Regions from separate parts of the Homo sapiens genome. Here regions 2 and 3 are each linked to region 1. The links are contacts of gene promoters, found by promoter capture Hi-C in blood cells and fetal thymus (Javierre and others, 2016). All regions are on one chromosome and are shown on one strand. The core of a region is centred on a gene start or on the middle of the fragment in contact, and the rest is flanking DNA. Distances in the headings are between cores, read along the strand shown. Region 1 holds the start of DNAJC2 (DnaJ heat shock protein family (Hsp40) member C2). Region 2 holds the start of HBP1 (HMG-box transcription factor 1). Region 3 holds the start of CBLL1 (Cbl proto-oncogene like 1).

What was found. Contacts are between HindIII fragments. The CHiCAGO score rates a contact against its expected background, and 5 or more counts as called.
Region 2: a contact is called between a fragment that was not itself captured here and the fragment with the promoter of DNAJC2 in region 1, in 1 of 17 cell types (naive CD8 T cells). The highest score is 6.2, in naive CD8 T cells.
Region 3: the fragment with the promoter of CBLL1 here is called in contact with the fragment with the promoter of DNAJC2 in region 1 in 2 of 17 cell types (total CD8 T cells and activated CD4 T cells); the score reaches 7.1 in total CD8 T cells.

What each region holds. Positions count from the first base shown.
Region 1 is chr7:103,343,258-103,346,237 of GRCh38, reverse strand. It overlaps DNAJC2 (DnaJ heat shock protein family (Hsp40) member C2), which reads left to right and starts at 1,471. Exons shown (of 17, transcript NM_014377.3): 1 at 1,471-1,679. The coding sequence starts at 1,616. It also overlaps a transcript of PMPCB not described here. RefSeq lists an enhancer at 1,289-1,528. The HindIII fragment of the contact is 5,590 bases long and covers 1-2,056 here.
Region 2 is chr7:107,166,746-107,169,455 of GRCh38, reverse strand. HBP1 (HMG-box transcription factor 1) reads right to left here and starts at 453. Exons shown (of 11, transcript NM_012257.4): 1 at 271-453. RefSeq lists silencers at 234-333, 352-925 and an enhancer at 644-803. The HindIII fragment of the contact is 837 bases long and covers 925-1,761 here.
Region 3 is chr7:107,742,655-107,745,592 of GRCh38, reverse strand. CBLL1 (Cbl proto-oncogene like 1) reads right to left here and starts at 1,451. Exons shown (of 6, transcript NM_024814.4): 1 at 1,417-1,451. The coding sequence starts at 1,429. CBLL1-AS1 (CBLL1 antisense RNA 1) reads left to right here and starts at 1,012. Exons shown (of 2, transcript NR_144537.1): 1 at 1,012-1,220; 2 at 2,190-2,840. RefSeq lists enhancers at 977-1,156, 1,507-1,726, 1,824-2,342, 2,343-2,862 and a silencer at 1,767-1,966. The HindIII fragment of the contact is 5,122 bases long and covers 1-2,660 here.

The sequences.
Region 1 (2,980 bases), core at 222-2,721:
TCGCTTGAACCTGGGAGGCAGAGATTGCAGTGAGCCGAAATCAGGCCACTGCACTCCAGCCTGGGCGACAGAGCAAGCCTCTGTCTCAGAAAAGAAAACAACAAAAAAACAAAAACCCATGTTAGAGTTAATGGTAAAATTGAATGGGAGGAGGTGTGAGGAAAAAAATATATTAATATGAAGAAAGTGGAGTCAGGTTACTTTGCACCTTGGAGCATGTTTTAACAGTGGTTGCATTAGTAGGGATCAGGAAGAGGTTTTGGGGCAGAAGATTAGTTCAATTTTTTTTTTTTTAAAGACGGGGTCTCACTGTTACCCAGGCTGGAGCGCAATGGTGTGATCTCAGCTCACTGCAACCTCCACCTCCCGGCCTCAACGATCTTCCCACCTCAGCCTCCCTTAGTTCAATTTTTGAAAAGTCAGTTTTGAAGTGACAATTTTATCATGCAGCAGATATACAGACCAATTAAATGTATTTAATTGGCCTGGCACAGTGACTCACGCCTCTAATCCCAGAGTTTTGGGAGACTGAGGCAGGAGGATCCCTTGAGGCCAGGAGTTCAAGACCACCTTGGGCAACATAGTGAGACCCTGTCTCTACAAAAAAAAATATACATATATATATATATAATATATTTAAAAACTTTAATTGTGAAAATATAATGAAATTAGTAAGTTATTTTCTAATTTACTAATTTCTGGTGGTCCTTGCTAAAGAGTGGCATATCAAGTTTATTTTATTGAACCTGTTTCAGATACTGCTGTTGGGGGTGAGCCTTTACCCACTGTTTGTTTTTGCTAGTTTTTGCTTTTGACTGCAGTCTTAGAAGGAAGCATATAGTAGGAATACAATTGATTTTATTATACATTAAAAAATTAAGTCCCAGAGTCCTATAATTGGGAATATCTTGAATAAAAACTTCATTAGAACAAGGTAAAAATATTGCTGGCCTTGGAATACAATCTAACACACTAGAGAGAGGTTTCTTCTCCAAGCGAGTATTAAAAGATATAATGCAGGTAAATTAGTAATAGCACGACAAATATTAGCTGCTATTATCATCATCAAGTTAAACACAAATGTATCACAAATACACGTACGTAATTCTCCGCAAATGTATATACTAGTCGTCGATACTGGTTCATACAGGTATTTTCATTTTTTACTTAAAAGTATAGCGCTCCTGGGAAAATCACTGATTAGGTTCAGATTAATACATAAAGCAGTAAGAACTTAAAGATAATATAAAAAGAACTGCTTTTAAAGGTTATGTTCTATGTATTGCACTGGGACGTGGAATATAATCCTTTTTACAGGAAAACTGATGCGCCTAGGAACCATTCTCTCGTGCGACTTGGTCTCCAGCCGGATCTCAGTCAGTATAGAACTAGGTTACCGCACACGTTGGCGGGGGTGGGAGGGTGTGAGACTGGCCTCCACACCACGAAAGATCCATCCCGGAAGTGCTTACTGGTCGTCTCCATGCGCCGGTTCCTGGGCGTCTTAGAGCCAAGGCGCGAGGCTCGGAGTGAGAGGTAGAGCTGGAGGGGACCCTAAGCGCCCTCCGCCCGGGACGTGAGCCGCTGCGCCCACCGGGCTAGACCCGGCGCCATCATGCTGCTTCTGCCAAGCGCCGCGGACGGCCGGGGCACCGCCATCACCCACGCTCTGACCTCTGGTAAGTGCCCACCCAACCTCGGTTCCTTCTCACCTCAGCTGCCCCTGCCTCAGTCCTCCGCCTCGGCAACCCTGGGCTCTCTCTACCCTTGACCCTGGCGACTAGCCCCGGGGCCGTATGGGGCCGTGACGAGTGCCTTTTTGCTCCGTGTTTTAAAGTAATCCTACCCTAGATTAGAAGGAAGGAGGGTGAGGGGTGCCTTCCTTTTGCTCCTACCGTTGCTTCCTCCTCTCGCCGCTGCTGACTCATGGATTGGGCTGAGCATTTCGGGACGGAACCCCCCAGCACCCCAGAAAGGTTCTCATAAGCATCTCCTTGCCTACGGTGGAAAGACTACGCGCAGCGAGCACCCCACGTGCCTGGGGTCGTACAAAGCTTTGCTACTGGCGCTCTCTTAAACAACTTTCTCCCTCTCTACGTTTGCTCCGGCCTTGTTTTTTAAATGTCACAACTCAGACACCGCTCCTCATACTCGGTGTTCAAAGACTGTGCTGCTGAAAAGATCCGCGTAGACTTTGAAAGGCAGTTATTACAAGTGAAACTTGTCCTGCTGCTGTAGGTTTTAGTTTTATGGCCCAGGACAGTCATGAGTATTGTAAACTTAAGAGTCTTCAGGTCCAGTGATCTACAGTAATTCCCATAGCCAGTCACATAGGCGCTTGTTGAATGTGATTTTGAACATAACCCATGGCACGTGTTGCATTTATGTGTCTCCGTGTGCCTCTTACAACTAGAGCAAAAGGCTTAAAAGGCAGTGTTCTTAAAAGCCACACACCCATACTACACAGGTAGTACCTTTTTGACAGTGTTTTAATCCTCTCCTGTGTAAGGTGGAGGAAATCTTAAAATAAGTTGTTCAGGGATTTTCCTTTTTTGAATTGCTAGTATACACATGTACAGTGATTTACCCCCACTTCCCAGGAATAGATGATACCTTTACTACAAGTTTGTAATTTCAGAGAGTTTCTGTGGTCTCATTCAAGCTTCCTAGGAACTGAATGAGATAAATAGGTATTGTTCCCATTTTACAGGTGAAGACATCCTGATTCATTTCAGGTCACATAGCCACTGTCAGACCTAGTCTAAAACCCAGAGTGTCTGGTTTCAGATTGAGAGCTTGTTCCACTACAGCTTAGCTGCATTAGTAAATTCCCATTTGCTGCTTGGAAAATTGCTTTCAGGACAAATTCTTGTTAGTGAATTCTTAAAATTTTTAAGAGCTATATTCAAGATTTTAATAATTAAGACAGTTTGAGTTGTCTGGGTGCGGTGGCTCACGTCTATAATCCCAGCACTTTGGG
Region 2 (2,710 bases), core at 94-2,593, 3.8 Mb before region 1:
GGCCCGGAACTTCGCCCTCCCCCTGCCTCCTCCCGGCCCCCGCCCGAGACCCCCTAGCGCCGCCGCCCCGAAGCCCAGGTGAGCTCGCGGGAGACGCTGCTCCGGTGGGCTCGCCGCGGGCACCAATCGAACGGTTAACTGCCCCCACCCCAAGGGCAACCCTCCGAGAAGAAGGAACGAGGACCCGAGCCCTCCAGTCTGCCCAATCCCCCGCGCTCCTGCCCCTCCCTTCCCCACCCCCACCTCTTCCCTAACTGAAAGACAACAAACCTGCCGCGAAGTGCCGGCAGCCCAGGCGCGGGCCGCTCCGGCCACGACAACACCACCAGCAGCTCTCGTACCCCCTCTCCGACCGACGTCGGCCTCCCCCGCGCGGGTTACTGCTCCCGCGGCAGCTCTTACTCCTCAACCGAAACTTTCCTACTTACCAAACCCGTCGCCATTACCAAGTCTTTCAAGCTTCGTCTTCCCCCTCCCCTCAACCCCCTGGGGGTTGAGCCCCGCCCAGCTCTTTCGCCCTCTTATTGGACTGCAGAACTGCCATTCGGTTCTTCCCCTTTCCCATTGGGTGGTACCGTGGTCCGTCTCGGGGGGCGGGCATGTATTGACTTTTGTGTTGTGTTTACTGGAGAAGATGGCATGTCAATCACAAGAGTAAGTGCTTCGGATTGGACTATTGCCGAGAGTCCGGGGACCCAAGCCAAACTTTGTCCCCGAAATGGATTGTGGGTTCGTAGTCTCAAGCCTTGGTCCTTGGCTGTGGGAGACTGCTGGCCGGGGAAGAGCTGGACTACGTATCCCAGAGGCGCTCGCACAGCGCAGTCTTGATAGTAAACAAGAGTCATAGGGACACGTGTATCAGCTCGTTTGTTTTGGTGTCTGGGACAAAAGGGAGGGGGCGGAGGAAGGGAGTGTTTTAAAGCTTGGGCCTCTTCTTTTCCTCCGGGCCTCTGCTAACACTTAGAGCGGCCCAAGCCTCTTGCAGCACCCAATCCGGGCCATAAACAGCCAGAGTTGCTCGCTGCTCAAGAGTTTGGCAGGAGGCCAGGGTATTGTTTTAGTGCGAGGGGAAGGAGATGACTGCACCAGCGGAAGTACTGCAGGCTAGCGAGGGACTTGATCACCCACAAATCACGGCCCCAGGCACGAAGGGGTCGAAAGTGATGCTGGGGGCTGCACTGGCAGTGGGAAGAACTAGAAGTCCTTTCTCTTGTGCCTTGCCTCACCACTCCCAGGACAGCAACTTGAGATTGCCTTGTCAGCTCTGTTCAGTTCACCTAAGTTTGTTGAGCCGCCACCTAAGTGCCAGGAAGAGTGAGGCTGGGGGATGGACTGTGAGCAAGCGAGAAGCTGGAGTCTAGAGAATTTACAAAGCGGGGGCGGGGGCGGGCGATTACGAAATTGAGGCAAGTTAAAGCGGCATTTTCCATACTGATTAGTATGCTCGTTGGTTAACGTAATACAAAGGGTGTAATGTATGACGTAAACTGATTTAATTTGTGAATCATTATCAGTAAGTTTCTCTGGTGAGTTTTATTAACCCTCTTTTCCTTCTAGACGTTTTCTCATTGATGAAAGAAACTGTCTTTCCACTTCATTTCCACTAGGAGTTCCTCAAGTTACGAATTCTCTGACTCACCAGAGACGCTTCCCTGCTTTATAGTTAACTTCTCTTTAAACATGGCTGTCCATTCACAGTCGGCTGCATCTAGTCAATAATTGGTGTCTTTACCATTCACATTACAAAGGCATGATTAAGCTTTTTCCCCCCTTTGAACCTTTAGTGTTTAATCATTTAAATTGTGCTTTAGATTTTCTAACTTTAGATCACTAAATATATGCTTAGAATTAAGATGAGGAAAACCTACATTAGTAAGAAATCTGTAAAAGCAAACCTTTGGACAGAGCCAGAAATCACACAGCTAGTTATTTCTTTAAAACCTCCTGCATTTCTTGGATTTTTAAATATACCTGAAAGCCGCGTAACAAATCAAGAAATCCAAAATAAGCCCCCACATGTTGAAATCGAGTTTAAAATTCTTGAGAATTCCCCATTTGAATCCGTGAAGTGAAATTATAAAGTAGTCCTCCCGTGTAATCAAATACTTACTTTCTATGTTCACAAATAGTAATAAAGCATTCTATTTTTTATTAAAATAATTCAGAGGAGAGCCAACAGAATGCTTAATTTTTTCCCTGAGGAAAAAGGACAGGATTTGAATTTATCATCTTTCAGAAATTATTAGTGACTCAAAGAAATGAATGTCTCTGCTACTTTGTGTATGCTTTTTTTTTTTTTTTTTTTTTTTACAATGGAGGGTCATCGTGTACTAGAATAGAAAATATAAACTCTACTCCAACATGTAATTTCTTGACAAAAAAGAAAAATCTGTGAAGTTCACCTAATTATTTAAAATTGTTTTGAGATATTTATGTCTAACTCCTCCTAGAAAACTAAAAAACTTTTCTCTTAAAAAAAAAAAAAAAAAAGAGCTGGCAAGAGATTGACATACTGCTTTACCCCTCTCCAGTACACAAACTGTGAGATCTGCTTTCAGCTAAACCTTGTTTTTAAAAGTTAAACTATTTTAAAGTTTTTACCAAATGCCTTAGTGGTGATTTTTTTTATCGGGGGACACCGGAAATGGGGAAAAAAAATTCAACTTTAGATCCAGATATTGTACAATATGTTACAAATAATAATTTATCC
Region 3 (2,938 bases), core at 202-2,701, 4.4 Mb before region 1:
TGTATTTTTTAAGAGACTGTGTTCCTCCTCCACTTCTGTTCAATGGCTTCATATTCACTTAAATTAAAATTCAAACGTTTACCACGGCTTTCAATGACCTGAATGATGTGCCTGCTGCCCTCCTTTCCAATCTCACTTCAGGACTCCTACCCTCTGGCTATTAGGAGGCTGCAGCTGACTTCACTGTATCTTCCTACCTCAGTGCCTTCGCACTTGCTGGAAATGCTCTTCCTCTTGCTTTTTTCCCAGGGCTGGGTTCTTCTCATCCATCAGATCTTAGCTTCCACAAAGACCATTCCTAACAACCCTCTCTGAAATTTCGTCCTATGAATCTCTCCACAGCACTCGTTTATTTTCTTCAAAATAATCCGCAAACATTAAAAAAATAATAAATTTAAAAAAAAAGAACGTATTGTCTGTGTTCCTCCATAAAACAGAAGTTCTATCACGGACCTGGTCCGTCTCGTTTACCATTCCATCTTCCATCTCCCGACCTATAGATATCTGCATGTATCTTGCATAAATAAACATACACACCTACATAAATAAACATACACACCTAATTATATAACCAAGTAGATATCTGATGAGTGAGGACAACTCAATACTCAAGAAAAAGCCTTTTTTTCTCTATTTGTGATACGGTCGCTATAAATGTATGGGGCACATAACTCCAAGAGCACTCATTCAATATCCAAGAACCACAAAGAAGCAAAAGCCAGAAAATACATAACAAAGGGTGGAGCCACTCTTACTTGGAGAAAAGTATGAGAATGCCTTGATTTTAAACTCCTCTTTGTAAATACCCTCAAATGATGAGTAAGGACCTCAGCCGAAGCGCGGGGCATGCTTTTGGTTTAGGTAGAAAAACTGCTCCGAGTTTGATTCCAAAAACTCTATCAGACTCCCTTCTTTCACCCCTCTAGTCCATAAAGGATCGGAGAGACGACAGGGGGTGACCACTGCAGCACCCGCCCAAAGCTGACTGAGACAGCAGGAAGTCTCCAACCCATTCTCGCCCGTCCACTCCCAGCGTAAAGAGGATTCCGCGACTCGGAGACCGCAATCTACCCGCCAGTCTCCATAACGTAGGCCAGAGCAGCTGGGCTAAATAAAACAGAGCCGGGGCTCTCCCTTCCCGAAGGCCTACATCGCCCACTGGTCCGGGCTCGGAGCTCAGCAGAACCAGAGTAGGAGCGGTTGTTGCCGGCACGGAGGAGGTAGGTACCACACCAGACGGTAGGCCAGGAAACCGCAGGCCCCTGCCGGGCACAGGAAGGCATCTGTGAGATTTCTTCTCACTGCCACACCCTAGTGTTGTGGGGCGAGCATAATCCCTTTTGCCTGCTGTGCGACCAGCCCCAGGCCGGCCAAGGGGGCTTGGAACCGGGACCCCCACTGCCTCCGCCTCCTTACCAGTGTGATCCATGATTCGGCTCGCAGAGCACAGTGGGAGCGGAAGTCAACCGCGCCGGAGTCGCAGCGAGCGCGTGCGCACTGCCTTCCGGAGGCCGGGAGGCGGAAGTCCAAGCAGGTTGTCCCAATTTTGGCCTGCAAAGACTTCCTTCTCTCGCCTCTACTATCCAACTCCTGTGAGGGACTCAGGCATAGTTCGGGCGGAGGCAGAAAGAGCGAGCGCGCGAAGAACTTCGGTATTGAGGTTGCTAAGGCTTCTCCTCATGTGCTTCAAGAGAAAGTAGCCTTTAACTGTGGAAAGGACACCAGGGGGACCGGGGAAGGGGAGAGCAGTGGTAAAAATGAGCCAGAAGCAGATAAGGCGACTGCCCGCCCCGCGGAGAGCTGCCTTCTGGGACTTGTAGTGCGCGGGGCCCCCGGAGCCGGCTGGCTGCGCAGGCTCGGCCGTTGCGCTGGCCCCACCCCGGCGGGCGGAGTAACGGTTTGGAATCCCCCGGGGTCAGCGAGCGCTTGTTTCCTCCGCCTGGTGTAGCAAAAGTGTAAACACGCGCGCTCCGGAAGGCGCCCTCCAGTGGGAGGTTGCTCAGGGGATGGCGGAGCTGTGAAACTCGGAGCTAGAAGGAAAGTCTCAACGCTTGTCTAAATTTTGCTTTGTCGTGACGAGCTACCTAGACCCACGCAGAGCTAACTTGGTATATGCCCCGGTTCCCATCTCTTAAGTCTCTTTACAGTTGAAACACGTTTATAATGCTTGACTGCCACTCACTTTCTAGGGAGAGCGCTTGTGACGCTACGAACCTCTCGAACACCTGACGACTGGGCGCCAGGGCCGGATGGAGGGTGGAGAGCCAGTGCGGCGCAGCTGCCTCCTCTTAACGGGGACACCTTGCAGGAATGTGCGGAGTGGAGCTAACGGGAGCGGATAGAAACCGAGGGAGGGGAAGAGAGCGCGAAGGCTTGGCCGGAAGGAGAGGTTAAAAAGGAAAGGCCTAAAATGAGGAAGAGAGTTACCACAACAAGCAGTACCTAGTTCCAGTTCTTGGTCCCAGGAGTTTGTGGTTGTTGCTGCTTTCATCTTCCTCAGCCAACACAAAAGGAAAGTGCCAAGGGGCGATTCCTAGGACCTTCAGTGCAGTCTCCACCTTGCGGACTTGGCTCATTTGTGTCCACTCCTTTCTCCAGCCTTTTACACTTGATGCTCTTGGATGAATAGAAAGGAGCACAATTAATGGAAAACACAAGCTTGGGAGTCAAGGGATTTGGGTTCTATTCTTGTCCTCCCTTGGTGACGACATCATTACCTTGGGTTATTCAAGCTTTCAGTGCCAGAGTTCCTATATCAATAAAAGATTATTACATTGACCTCTTAGAGAAATGTTTTCATGGTACTGAATTGCAAATAAAGTATGTGTAGCGATGTGTTATATCTTTGTAGTTGTACGGTATTATTTGTGAATCATGCTGTGATGATCAGTGCGATTTAAGTGCACCATGTTATTTGGTGATTATTTTCCTGAGATCT